2 separate regions of the Homo sapiens genome follow, and region 2 is linked to region 1. The links are contacts of gene promoters, found by promoter capture Hi-C in human tissues and cell types (Jung and others, 2019). All regions are on one chromosome and are shown on one strand. Each heading gives the region's core, a stretch centred on a gene start or on the middle of the fragment in contact. The rest is flanking DNA. Distances are from core to core; before and after follow the strand shown. Region 1 holds the start of GHR (growth hormone receptor). Region 2 overlaps GHR (growth hormone receptor).

Region 1 (7,515 bases), core at 5,016-7,515:
TCACTGAAACCTTTTCTTCCACTTGATCAAATTGGCTACTGAAACTTATGCATGCATCATATAGTTCTCATGCGATGTTTTTCAGCTCCATGAGGTCATTTAAGGTCTTCTTTACACTGTTTATTCTAGTTAGCCATTCGTCTCATCTGTTTTCAAGGTTTTTAGTTTCCTCATGATGGGTTCAAACATCGTCCTTTAGCTCGGAGAAGTTTGTTATTACTGACCTTCTGAAGCCTACTTCTGTCAACTCATCAAAGTCATTCTCCATCCAGCTTTGTTCTGTTGCTGGCAAGGAGCTGCAATCCTTTGGAGGAGAAGAGGCGCTCGGGTTTTTAGAATTTTCAGCTTCTCTGCTCTGGTTTCTCCCCATCTTTGTGGTTTTATCTACCTTTGGTCTTTGATGTTGGTGACTACAGATGGGGTTTTGGTGTGGATGTGCTTTTTGTTGATGTTGATGCTATTCCTTTCTTTTTGTTAGTTTTTCTTCTACCAGTCAGGTCCCTCAGCTGCAGGTCTGTTGGAATTTGCTGGAGGTCTACTCCAGAAACTCTTTGCCTGGGTATCACCAGCAGAGGCTGCAGAACAGCAAATATTGCTGCCTGATCCTTCCTCTGGAAGCTTCATCCCAGAGGGGCACCTGCCTGTATGAGGTGTCTGTCAGCCCCTACTGGGAGGTGTCTCCCAGTTAGGCTACACGGGGGTCAGGGACCCACTTGAGGAGGCAGTCTGTCCTTTCTCAGAGTTCAAACACCATGCTGGGAGAACCACTGCTCTCTTCAGAGCTGTCAGACAGGGCCATTTAAGTCTGCAGAAGTTTCTGCTGCCTTTTGTTCAGCTATGCCCTGCCCCCAGAGTTGGAGTCTACAGAGGCAAGCAGGCCTCGTTGAGCTGCGGTGGGCTCCACCCAGTTCAAGCTTCCCAGCCACTTTCTTTACCTACTCAAGCCTCAGCAATGGCTGACGTCTCTCCTCCAGCCAGGCTACCACCTCGTAGTTTGATGTTGGACTGCTGCACTAGCAGTGAGCAAGGCTCTGTGGGTGTGGGACCTGCTGAGCCAGGCACAGGAAGGAACTTCCTCGTCTGCTGGTTGTGAAAACTGAGGGAAAAGTGAAGTATTTGGGCAGAAGTGTACCATTCCTCCAGGTACAGACTGTCACTGCTTCCCTTGGCTAAGAAAGGGAAATTCCCCAACCCCTTGCTCTTCCCGGGTGAAGCGACGCCCCACCCTGCTTCAGCTTATTCTCTCTGGGCTGCACCCACTGTCCAACCAGTCCCAATGAGATGAACCAGGTACCTCAGTTGGAAATGCAGAAATCACCCGTCTTCTGCATCAGTCACGCTGGGAGCTGCTGATGAGAGCTGTTCCTATTTGGCCATCTTAGGTTGTTTTCCAATAAATGGCAATTTTAAGCTTTCACCTGGCTCTGGGACCTCCTCATAAATTTTGGCTAAGAATACCCAGATCATGAAATAACATTTTCCCTGTTACCTTCCAATATAGGGGGAAAGCAATAAATACTTCCCTAAGTCATTTTTTTCTCTTCATGATTCCCTTGCCATCCTCACCCAAGGCAGTTGTGGGATGGAACTAGGGGACTAAGATAAAGAGAGTACCCTAGTCAAAGAGCTCTCACAGTGTGCTCACAAGCATCACATGCTCAATTCCATGATATGCTGAGTCCTGGGCAAGGAAGGAATTCTCAGCACTCTTGTACCTGCTACCTGACATTCTTGAGCCTCTTACCCTGCTATGGTTTTCTTTAATCAGCACTTCAGTGATTTACTTATTATGTTTATTGTTCATTGTCTCTCCTAACTAGAATGCAAGCCCCATGAGGGCAGCATCTTTGTAGATATGTGGTATAAATTTTGTTCCCTGATGCATGCTAAGTTTTTAGAACGAAGTCTGTCATAGTGTAGGCTCACCAACATTTGTATGAATGAAAGAACATGGTGAATGGGAATTCAGTGTTAGTTTAAAAAAAATTCATTAAAGGGATAATATTTTATTAGAATCTTATTAATTTTACCAGTAAATATTGTATTAATCAGGGAGATATATATATATATATATGTCATATTCATGAGATATATATATATATATATATGTCATATTCATGAGATATATATACAGAGACTTATTTTGAGAAATTTGCTCACATAATTGTGAAAACTGAAAAGTCAAAAATCTACAGGGTAAATTGGTTACAGATTTAGGGAATAGTTGATATGCAGTTTGAATCCAAAGGCTGCCTGCTGACAGAATTTTCTCTTCTTTGGGATAGGTCAGTTTTTTTCTCTTAATGCCTTCAACTGATCGATTGAGGCCCACCTACATTATGTAGAGCAATATGATTTACTCAAAGTCTATTGATTTAAATGTTAATCTTACCATAAAAATGCCTTTGCCAAAAAAATCTAAAATAATATTTGACCAAATATCTGGGTACCATGGTCTAGCAAAATTGACACATAAAATTAACCATCTCAATGTGTCAACTTTGCTAGGGCATGGTACCCGGACATTTGGTCAAATATTATTCAAATAAATTTAGAATTTATCACAAATGTTTGATATCATAATTTGATTTACAAATATCAATCTAATACTTTATTTTACAGCTGAATGATCTCAGAGAGCAACCCCTTCCTTCTATAGGCCAAGAAATGGAGTCATTGTGAGATTAGTAACTAATTTACCCAAAATCACAGAGGACCCACACAGGATCCCAAGGCTCCTGACTAACAATCCTATGTTCTTCAACTACAAATGCTATAAAACAAAACAGCTATAAAATGCTACTTTAAGTGTTTTGGCCTCTTTTGTTTTGTTTTGAGAAGAAGCTTTGGCATTTTATAGTACAACAGAGTGACTAAAGCCATGCTCTAACCTCAGATAACTGTAGATTTAGGAAGTTTATACTGTGGTGTTTTATGGTTTGGGGAGATGGCGATCTGACCTAGATATCTGCACTTGAATATATATAATCAGAATTATTTTCTAATTGTTTCTATTGTCTTCAAGGCAGTTTATATTTTTTGCTAAGCCCTACTGGGGATGTATAAAAGACTGGGGAAGGGTGGGCCATAATAAGGTAAGGCCATAATAAGGTAAAATAGGTTGGACAAGATAAGTTAGCCAATATCTGAGTAAAGACTTCAAGGAACTGTAGGAGGAAGCAAATGAATATTTGTGGAAGTGTGTTTAAATCAGAGAGAAAAGCCAGCAAAAAGCCTTCAAGTTAGGAGTCTGCCTGGCCTGCTTAAGAAACAGCAGGGAGGCCGGTGTGCTGGGAGCAGAATGGATGACCCAGTGATGGGGAAATTCATGGGAGATGAGGTGTGGGGCAAAGGTACATAGCTCACGTAGGGTCTCATGGGCCATTTTGAATTTTATTCTGATTTGAATGGGGAACCATTGGAGGGTTTTGAGCTGAGGAATGACATGATATTAATTTTAAAAGGAATGACTATGGCAACTGAATTTATACTTTGGGTTGTTGTTGGTGTTGGTTGGGGATTAGGGGTGGGGTTTGTCAAAGCAAGCAGACCAGTTGAGTTGAGAGACTACTGCAGTAATCTGAGAAATTCTGGTGGTTCAGACCAGGTGTCTCTGGACCTCTCCAAGAAAATAGACAGAGTTTTGAATGTGGAATGTGATTGGCAGAGAAGAAGTAAGGATGATTTCAAAGGTTTGTGGCCTGGGTAACTGGCAGGAAGTAGTTGCCATCTACTGAGATGGAAATGTCACCCACTGTGATTGGAGTATGTTTAAGGAGAAAGAACCAGAGTTCAGATGTGGACATGTCAAGTTTCAGAGGTCTGTTAGACATCCAAATGGAGATACCCAGTTGTTAGCCTGGAGCTCTGTGGAGAGATCTGGGTTAGAGATATAAATCCAAGAGATACAACTTTTCATTCAATTTGATTATTTATTGGACGCTTTATAAACTCTGTAAATACTGGGCACTAACCTAGACATTGCAGGTACAGATATTAAGAATATATAGTTTCTCCCTCAGAAATCTCTTAATTAATGAGAAAAGCAGACATGTCAACAAAACTGCAATATTTAATAAAAGAAGATATAAAGGCCTATAAAGGTGCTGATACAGGGAGAATTAATTAATTCCACCCTGGGGAATAGTCAGGAAGACCTTCAGAGAGAAAGTAAACAATTGATTGGAACTTTAAGATTAAGAAGGATTTCTCTGGGTGGACAAAGTAGGATCTTCCAAGCAGAGTGGAAACCATGAGCAAATGCAGTTTCATTCTTCAGAAGGTAAATGTGCTCTGGCATGCCTTAACTTATAACAAATTAATCAACTCAATACCTGCTACATTTTCCCTCACAATTTGGAATATATAAAGAGGCACATACTACTATGGACCAATACCTGGTCATATATGAGATTGAAGGACCTTTACTTACGAGGCTTAAAAATAAAGACTGCCCTTCATGTCAGTTGCAGGTTTATATCTAGTTCTATAGTATTAACTGAGGTGTCTTTTCCTATGTTTTCTGTGCATGATGACTTTTTAAAAATCAAAGACAGAGCAGCAGCCAGAGTAGTCTAGTTTCATGGCACACAGAATGGAGGATATTGCTGAACCCAGATTTAAAAAAAAAAAGAAGTCAATTCTTATTTTTTTAAGTATGGCCCTGAGCTCATCTCAGAGCATAAACAATAGAATTTAGAATATCTTTTATGACTCCGTCTGGCACCTCCTAAACTAGATCAAGATTCTCTAGCTCAGGGAAGAAGGGCAAAGGATGAGAAGGCACAGAGAGGATATAAACAGAGAGGTTGGTAGTGCCAGGCTCTGAAGAAGGTCCAACTTGGAAGGTCATTTCAGACAGGCGTGGAGTCAGCATTTGAGGCCTGTCTGGTCTCTACTCCTGCCAGGACTACCCTGTCAGCCAGCTTGGCAGGTATGGACCACCCAGCAGGAGTTTTTCTTGACTGTGCCCTAATCTTTTACTTTCCCAAGTTTCTCTATATGGGTACCTCCCCTTTTAAAAGCTCCAGACACAGCCAAGCACCACTATTGCTCCAGCAAAGTATGAAGCCCCAGAAATCAATGGTTTGGGGAAGAGTCTTAGGGGAACTAAATGCCTCCTTATTTTTAGATGCCATAGAACAAGAGCAGTTCAGGATCAATAACCATCCCACCCCATGATAAAACACGCCCCTTCCAGAATCTTTCCTTTTTCGTTCATTCTAGGTGTCTGTCTGGAACAGCTGGGGTATTTGAGCCACAGCTGAGCTTCTGAAAGCATTCTAAGGAACAGTTTTTCACTTATCTGATTCCTTTGAAAATAGGGGTATCTTATGTGATATCTGCTATCCCAGAGTCTTTGGTCCTCTGTTCCTTCTCAAGTCTTGGCTCCCGTGTACTACTTCAAAGCCCTATAGATATTTTATTCTAAAGAAAAGAAACTTGGTTCCTTTAAGTTGTTTAAACATTTCTTTCTGGGTATAAACTTGGGTTTGTGTCTGGGAGCTCTGTTAAAAAAAAAAAGTCTTTAGTAAGCCAAAGCTGTTAGAAGCTTATAAGTAAGTGACATTACAATTGACCGTCAGTAAATAGTGGAAAGATTGCATGACTAGCTACTCCTTCAGATCTGAGACAACCTGGAGCTAGATTTTTGTACTCTCTACTCAGAAAAGCATATAGTGACTTGGGGTTTGATGCTGTACAAAAATGACATGCTTATGCACAACTTTAACTTTCTGCAACACTTTTACAACTTCTTGTGAATGAAGTAGGCAGGGCTCGCATTTGACAGATGAGCTATGTCCAGCGTGAGGCAGAGTTAAAACCCTTTTCCTGGCTCAGGAACTTCAGGCTGGGGCCTGTGTCTGCTCTCCCTGCATCCCTGTCCTCTAGCAGATACCTCTCTGCTAACATGCTGAGTGTCCTTGGTAAATTACTCATTCTCTCTGTCTCCGTCTTCTAACCTCCACAATAAAGTCCTTCGTAGTTTTAACTATCTTTTCACTGTGCCCCAGTGAGCAGGAGTTTGGAACTTGATTGTTGATGGAAAGGCAATATTTGGATGGCTAAACACGCTTTCCAAGGTATCTCGCTGATCTTCCTCTCATTCCTGGAGATAGCTAACCTTTTTGTAAGTGTTTCTTTGAGTCTGTGGACTGCACTTAACGCTCTTGTAGGTCCTGCTTTCATTTGGAACGGGCAGGCGGAGAGGAAGGAAGTGTATTGCAACTACCAATATTTTCCTCTAGGAGGAGCCGCGCAGCTCAGTTGAGAGTGACACGCACCAACTCCAGCTCCTCGCCGGGAAGACTTCATCCCAGCAACTCGGAATGCTTGGCCCGGGCGGCACTCGGCCTCTCCGCAGCAGTTCTCGAACTGGCCTCCTTGAACGTCCGCTTCGCCTTCGCTTCTGCAACCTGGATCTGGGGGACTGCGGGCCAGGCGCGGCGTGACCCCTGGTGAACGGTGGCCGCCTTTTCCCACCCCTGCCCTCCCATCCTCCCTTCCCGTTTCACCCCGCCCCCTCTCTCCTCCCCAAGCCTGACAGCCCGCGAGCTGCCAAGCAGGGCGCAGCCATGGGAAGAGGAGGAGGGCTAGGGAGCGGCGGCGGCGGCGGCAGCGGCAGCAGCAGCTGCTACAGTGGCGGTGGCGGCGGCGGCTGCTGCTGAGCCCGGGCGGCGGCGGGGACCCCGGGCTGGGGCCACGCGGGCCGGAGGCCCCGGCACCATTGGCCCCAGCGCAGACGCGAACCCGCGCTCTCTGATCAGAGGCGAAGCTCGGAGGTACTGGAGTGGGGCTCCGGGAGTCTGGCTTTATTTTCCTCCTGTTGTGCCAGGGGGCCTGAGGGTGAACCCTGGGACTCTAGTTGTTTATGAAAACGGGAGGATCTGTCTTATATATTTACACGGATAATTTTTTATTCCGGATGACTTGGCTGTGCTCCCCTCCTCCTTGCGAAGAAGTTGTTTTCTGCTGGTGGGTTGTTGTAACCCAATCTAGTGTGTGTGTGTGTGTGTGTGTGTGTGTGTGTGTGTGTGTGTGTGTGTCTGGAAGTTGGTGAGGGCGGCAGGGAGTTGCGGGCGACAGACGAACCATCACACTCTGGCGTCTGCTCTGGCCCGCGAGTAGTGTACGTGGAGGGGTTTACTCCGGAGACAGTTTTGTTAAAGTCATAAAAGTTTTGCTAGTGTGTTTCTGTTTGCCATCATCTGCCTGGCTGCGGCAGGAACTGCCGAGGCTGCTGCTGTTGCGCGGGGAAGAATCCCCGGCAGCGCGACTGGAGAGACTGGGGAGGTCGAGCTGTGCGCGTGGACACAGCGCGCAGAGCGCGCGGTCTTTTGCGCGTTTGTGCGGGCCGCAGCCGCACGTTGGCACCGATGGAACTGGGGTCAGTAGAGTGACAGCCACCAGTCCGCATGAACTGGGGTAAGTGGAAATTGTGGCGAGCCGACCTCCCCCAGCTTTTGACACACTAGTGGTTGTAAAATCAACCAGGCTTAAAGTTTTGACAGAACT
Region 2 (7,515 bases), core at 1,146-3,645, 150 kb after region 1:
AATAGTTGAATGATATACCCAGAAATTATGAGCTTCCTTCCCCATCTCTATAATTCTCCCTCCCTTTTTTATATCCCTCTCCTTGTAGAGAAGTCTCAATATGTTTAAACTATGTTTCATAGCAGACCTAACTAAAACAAGGAAGAGTAATAGAAGGGAAAGGGAAGAGGAACTTTTCTGTCAGAAAGAAAACTGTGCTCTCTAACGGGTGGGAGACTTTTTTTTTTTTAATGAGTACTTGATGTTTTTCCTTGCCTGGGCTTCTACAGAAGAAAGAAAGAATATATTTCTCCCATGCTATGACACTGAATTTAGTTGTTGCTTTAAGAGTGTCAGACTCCCCTTCTCACCATTCAGCTCATGTTGGAAAACACAGTTTAACAGCAGACTTAGCGCCTTAAGATGTCCTCCCTGACCTTCTAGCCAAAAATAAATCCGTAGTAGTGAGCTGCTGAGGGTGACCACAGTCACTTAGAAAATGAGAAGAGTAAAATATGTTATTTTATCTCTTAAAGCAATTTAAAAATATTTATAGAAAAGAGTCATAATTGTTGGAAATATTTTTTGGTCTCTCTGGCGTTATAATGTCAACATTATGCAAGTCAAACATGGAGAGAATTGCAGGCTCCATTTCAGCAGCTTTTCCCATGGCTGGTTTTAGACCTTGGTTCTGAGCCAAAGAATTGCAGCTGAGATCCTCTGCTGTTCCAAAGTCATGGTGGCTTAATCTCTCGTTTCTTCATTAAGGTGACTTTCACTCCACTGGGCAAGATTTGAGGAATTTAAAAAACTTGTGAAATGAAAAGTATGGCATAGGAAATCTTTAAAGAAAATTAAAAATGCATCCCCAGCTGAGAGATTAGAGCTCAAATTACATTTTAGAACTAGAAAGTCTGCAAGGAGCATCTGTTTCAGCTGCTTCGACATTTTACTAAAACTTTGAGTTCCTGAGTGAAGAGAAAACATCACTAGTTGCTTTTAATGTTTGCTTTTTGTTTTTCTTTTTAATAGTTTTGTTTGATTCATTTATTTGTTCAGGGAGAGCAGAATATAAGCAAATGCAATAGTTTATACTAAACACAAATCACATATCCTACCAGTACTTACGCATAAGAAGTAATTTAACAAAGAAGAACATTTTTGTCTCTTTTTTTTTTGTCTTATTGAACTAACCAATATTTCTTTTTCCTTTGGAATATGTGCATATTCCAGAATCCTTTCTTAAAATGGTCTAAGGATTAAGGATGGGGCATGATGTTTATGTAAGAAGGCATATGTAAGCACGTTCCAGTGTGTGTGTGCATGCTTGGCTCTGTGTGTGTGTGTGTGTGTGTGTGTGTGTGTGTGTGTGTGTGTGTGTTCTAGTTCTGGCCACTTATCTAATGAATGGGTTCATGGGTTCAGCCAAAGTTACTGCATAACATGACATGGGTCAGTCTCAGATAATATTTATGGACCATGTGTTTGTTTTTCTGCCAGGTCTGGATTGTAGCCAAATCATTTTATTTTTATTGTGTCTCCTATTGAATAAGGCAGACTAAAAATATAGATTAAATTTTTAAAAAGAAAAGATACTACTATTGAATTCAGTTTGTTCAGTGAAAGATGTGGCATTGATGGGTAAGTGATCTTGGAAGCATCACCTGGAGAAAAGTCACCCAGGAGCTGGTAGAAGATGACAGACCTGTATGCGTAGGGAAGGGTAGCACTTGAGCAGGGATTTTCTTGCTTGGGCAGATGAGCAATTAGAAATATACTGGCCCTGAAAGGATTTTTTTTTATTAAATCTAATTGCCCTGTGGGAAATTTAATGAGAACTAAATTTGAACAGTGCCGTTATTGTGTTAGCTAAAGTGTTGTAATAGATGTTTTCTGTCTCTCATCCTTAATATGAAGTTCTCATCCTTAATATGAAGCTCTATATCTGCTCCTCAAAGCCAGTTACATAGTCTAGAGGAGAATTTTTTATTCCAAAATCAGGAATGATCCACAATGCCTTGTTTTCAAAGGGCTTCACATGGTTGACCTATCAACTGATTGTATCAAAATTGCTGCTGCTGGAATAATGTTGCTAATGAGAAATGTGCATAAAGATCTAATGGATATAAGTATTCTTCCAAGGAGTGCCTGTTATAAATTAGGTCGTATATCTCTACTATTTCAATCAGTCTACCCTTGAATATACCCTTTGACCTCAGTAACCTAAGGTGGAAGTAAGCAAGCCCCTGCCTTGTAGTTCAGTCTAGCTGGGACATGAGGAATGTCTTGAAATTAATGAGAGCCTGTATACCTTTAAAGTCTAGATTGTGTGATGAAGAGAAATGGTCAAGATGCCCTGAAAAAGAATAGATCAAGGTGGACTAGAATAGTTAATTCAACAAATTCAGTGTACTGATAATTCTTAAGAGCTTCCTATTTTCAAAGCCTGCACCTATGGCTATGAGGAATACATTGATTCTTCCCTCAAGGAACTTTTCATGGGTTAATAAATCAGGCATGTACACCAAGAATTACAATATCAGGCATTGTATATTAACTATCAAAATGGCTTGAATCACACTTTATAGAAGTGATGATGACGTGAGGGATACCTCAGCTGTGGTGAATTACAGCTTCATGAAGGAGGTTGACATTGTTTCTCTAGAGACTAGAATGTCAGGTTTAAGATTTTAAAAGGCTGAGAAGAACAGAAGGCTATTACAGGAATAACTTATGTGATAAAGCAACAACATAAACAGAAGTGTACAGATGTAGATATGAGATGTCTATGGACAACAATTCATTCACTTACTGTGCTAGTCAATGGATGGTTCTATTTTATGCATTTAACATTCAACAAGCATTTCTTGAGCACTTACTTCGTGGAAGGCATAGGATTAATTTGGCCAGGGTGTGTGGTACATAGGTGCTATATTTGTAATTATTCCCTTTGGAAGCAAACTTAGGTCAGTAGGTTTGAGTCAAATTATAGAAGGCCCAGAGATAGCAAAGGCATTATGGAAAAGGCAAGACTTGCTGGGCCCTTGAAAAATCGGTAGCATTTGGAGAGGAAGAAAAGAAAGAGGAAGTGTATGCCATATCCAGCCAGTAATAGTCCTCAATATTGGAGGCCAGACAAAAGCGCTACCTGCATGATGGAATAGTGTGTGTGTGTGCATATGTGTGATATTCATATGTAACATATATAGTATCTACATGTAATATTGATATATAATATTTACATACAACATATTTATATTTGTATGTGTGTAATACATACACTATATGTACACATATACATATACATGTATATATATGTACACTATATGTATATAGTATATGTATGTGCACACCAGTGAGGTGTGGCTTGCAGGCAAAGCACATAATTGACATCACTCAAATTCTGCAAAAGGTGTTATATCATTCTGTACCATTCAAAGTAAGAGACTTAGGAATGAGATGCCACATCCTAAGGGAACCAAGAGCCCCAAAATAATTTTTTCTGTATATTTTGAACATTTTTCATAAACCTATGCACACTGACAAAACACTTACTTGAAAGGAAAGACACCCCTGTTCTCATTGCTATCAGACAGCAACAATTTATTTTTTAAAATAAACTCTATTCCACCACAGTTGAGGTTCCACAGAGCTCTGAGAGGATGTCAAGACATGTCAGATATATTTCACACAAGTATTAGAGTCATGGTTTCAGTTAGTAAACAGTAATGAATGCATCTGTTAAATGTGTTCAAGAATGAACACTTCAAGGCTTTCCATTCACAGTGAAGGTGGGGAAAAAAGCCACAGAGCTTTTGATTGCTGCTGTCTTCACCATAATCCAGAGGCAAGAAGAAATCTTATGGTGTGTTCTAGTGCAATGGCCTGCGTCCATGTACATCAGCAATCCTCTGTCCCCTTGTCCTCCTGATATTGCAGAATTTATTTGATGTTGGAGTTCAGCAGGTCACAGCAAGCTGGATTAATCTAGATGGTGCCAATGTAGATAATGACACATAAAAAGTCTTTCAAGAAGCTTTTATTAAGTCATTTTACAGATTCAAGGAGGAATTTCATGTATTTATTTATTTATTCATTCAATTTTGCATGCATGCATTTATTCATTTTTTTGTTTTAGAGATAGGAACTTGCTATGTTGTGCAGGCCCCAAACAGTTCTACTAGCTTCAAACAATCCTTCTTCAGCCTGCAGAGTAGTTGGCATTATAGGTATGAGCCACTGTGCCCAGCCCAAGGAAGAATTTTGAATGTATATTCCTGCTTTTAAGGAGCTCACAGTCTTTAGAAGAGAAAACAGAGAAATAAACATAATTTAATTGTGATCCTCTTAGATTATTAAAGGGTTTTAATCTAGGTAATAATACTGTTAGATTTTTACTTTGTCAGTAATACTAGTAATAGGATAAAAGTGAATTTGAAAGGGATGAATTAGAGGAGGAAGTTGATGACAATAGGTCAGGAGAGAGATAATCTAAGTGTGACAGGGATGATAAAAAATAGATGGATCACAAACACGGGGATGTTAAGAAGACAGAATTACCAGTACTCAGAGTCTAATTAACCTGTGGATTTTTGACTCGGGGAACTATCAGTGCCTTCTTTTCCATCCATTTCTAAGTTTCTGCATTTTTAATTAATGTGATCATCAGCAATGACTCACGTTTAATGCAGTGAAGTCCTGGTGCACAGTTCAGCCTATTAGCACTAAAGTGGCACTTGCACAGAACAACTCTGTAGGGGAGGAAACATGCTGAGGCTGGATGACAGCAGAGTGTCTAAGCTACGCTTCTTTTGTACTATTTCTCTGAACTCCTCATGCCTGTGTCTACCCTGGGTCCTGCAGCTGTCTGCTCAGCTCTGCAGTATGGCTGTGGTATGGCTCAGGCTACTATGCAGTGAGGGTCTACAGCAAGGACAAAGGTCTGAACTCCCTCCTCATTGTAGTCTCTGGACATGTGTGACTCTATCCCAAAACCTTGACAATCCCCCAGATATTTTGTCATTGCTAGAGTATGTACTTACTCATGGGATACAATAAAATATATGCAGGATGAGTTGAGAACAGCAGAGCCATGTGCTGGGCAGAGTCTGGGAGGTTGGTTAGGCTCCCACGGAAAATGAGTGACCTACCCCTACAAAGAAGCTGGCAGTGTGAGTGATTAGATTTGTGCCACAGCTAATTAGTAAATTGAAGGAGTGGGACCACCCAAGAATACTCAGAACCCTGAATGTTAGTTAAATTCACACATGCCAGTGATAGAGTATATTTCTGGTCTTCCGCCTTAGATGCCAGCTCTTACGGGAACAGAGCCAGTCCTGGTTATATAATAGAATGTTTCCACACCACTTTGGTTCAGTATCCTAAATTGTGGCTCTTGTTATGGGGTAGACAGGAATGAGGTTGACATAACGTATTTGGTGTTTGGTGATGGCAAAGAGTACCTGTTCATAGACACACCTGGTTGTCCACCTCTGGCTAGAGACCAACCCAAGTTCAACTGTGCAGAAGTCCATGTTGGCCTTTACTGGCCCAGCCAGCCTCTACCTGAGATCATTCCCTACAACAAGGGGCCCAGGATTCCTCAGTCACCCCAGCAGCTTTTCCCAAGGAAAACCATCTCATGAAGAATTTGCCATTGATGATTTTCTCCTCACTGTGCATCGAAGTCAATGGGTTTATTACTGAGAGTTGGTTCCTTTTAAACCTTAACCTTACACTGTATATGATATAGAACTGTAGGCAGGCCAGGGTCATCAATAAAGACATTTTTGGGGCCTCTACTTGGCTTGTAACCACCTGCTTATCCACAGTACTGTGCACCTAGCTTGTCATCAGGCAGAGTCACCAGCAGCCACAACAAAAGGGTGCACCTTCGTCTTTTCCAAGCAGCAGGCAATGTGGCTCCATTTTAACTTTTCTGGCAATACTCACATGGATTGTTAAATAATGCTGTCAACAGTGTCATCTTCAAACCCAAAGCAAACTTCCTCATCATCTGTAGTTAGCAGCATGAAGACGGTGATGATGTGTAACATAAACACACTTTGAAATCTGATGCAATTGACCCTACGAAGAGAGTATTCCTTAGTGCCCTGTCTGGCAACTTCTGGACAGACCAGGAGGCCTTGGGGCTTAGAGCACTTCTTCAGCCTCAGCTGCAAATCCATTTTTTCTTGTCCCTTGTTCCCAGGATGAAGCCACAGTGTTTCATCAGGTACATTTATCAGGAATCTCTGTTTCTGTTTATATAACAATTTAACTTAAGCCTCAACCTTCACAGTGTACGCATCACATTTCCATGGAAGGATTGCAGGTATTAGAAGATGGTGGATCATGTCTTAACCACAGGGGAAATGTTTCAGGATGTTTTTATAGAAACTTTCACTAACAAGCAGGACACAGGATTGGCAGAGAGGTGGGGGTAGGAGGCAGGTGAAGGGTGGCATTTGTTGTGTTTCCCTCTTCTAAATGAAGTTATAATGACATCTGTGTTTCAAGAGTGTGGCAAGTTTGGACTGAGCTTGAAATAAATACAGTTTAATTGGTTTCAAATAACTGAACAAAATGACCATTCCATGCCCTGTGTAATAAAATGTTATAGAATTAAAACTTATTAGACGTTAAAATCCATGAAGGATATTTTGCTGGATGCCCATCCTTCAGCATTCTGATGAGGATCTTCGTGTATTTGTTCAATGAATAAGTGAATCAGCAGCTAAATCCTGACCTTTGATTTCCTCAGTTCTCTCCTGCAATTGTCACTGATGCTCTCATCTCCAGTCCTGAGCAAGGCAGGAGTTGAATTAGTATCCCCTTATAGTGGGAGGGGTCTAGAAATAGCTGTGCCACTTTAGAAGCTAGGCTTTGTGGGCTTTTCCGGGGGATGGAATGATTTCATTTTCCTGCTTTCTACTCCACATACCACCAAGATCAGAATTCTGCCCTAAACACTAATGTGTGGGAGCCTGATGTCCTGCCTAAGTCTTGTCAACCTCTTTCCAGGTGACTGAACTCCGAACCCCATGCACCAGTCACTGGCCAACATTCTGCATTAAGTGACCCGGTCACCCAGCACCATCCCCCTGACACCACCTTTATCTCTACACCACCTGCCTCCTGCCTGATTAAATCTCCTCAAATATTGACAGACATAATGATACCTGAAGATCCCAAATCCAAATTTTCTTTGCCCCTTTGGACATTGAACTTTAGATTACAAAAGACCCTGACTAGGGATCCTGTGGATAGCTGAGTCAATTTTCTTAGCCCCATTCCTTAAATATCAAGTCTTTCTAATTTTCCAATGAGAGCACATGAAACTCTCAAGGTTAAAAGTCAATTTATATTAATAAAATCTTTAATTTCTTGATTTCTGAATATGAAAAAATGATACTTTGTGTATTTTTTAATTTTTTGGCAAAACCTTCCAAATTTGTGGAAAGAGAAATAATATTGACTACTGGATAACCATGTGCTATGTGTAAATATTAACGGATTCACCTTAGTGGGCACTGA

What was found. Contacts are between HindIII fragments. The study calls those that stand out against the background at their distance.
Region 2: a fragment that was not itself captured here is called in contact with the fragment with the promoter of GHR in region 1 in 2 of the 25 tissues and cell types used here (dorsolateral prefrontal cortex and heart right ventricle).

The regions. Positions count from the first base shown.
Region 1 is chr5:42,417,174-42,424,688 of GRCh38, forward strand. GHR (growth hormone receptor) reads left to right here and starts at 6,266. Exons shown (of 10, transcript NM_000163.5): 1 at 6,266-6,782. RefSeq lists promoters at 5,549-6,634, 6,058-6,630, 6,240-6,340, 6,538-7,306, 6,959-7,306 and 1 more, cis regulatory regions at 5,549-6,057, 6,395-6,435 and an enhancer at 6,262-6,411. The HindIII fragment of the contact is 10,174 bases long and covers 4,198-7,515 here.
Region 2 is chr5:42,566,455-42,573,969 of GRCh38, forward strand. All of the region lies in intron 2 of GHR (growth hormone receptor), which reads left to right. Among named protein-coding and RNA genes, the nearest start is that of GHR, 150 kb to the left of the region's middle. The HindIII fragment of the contact is 7,778 bases long and covers 1-6,284 here.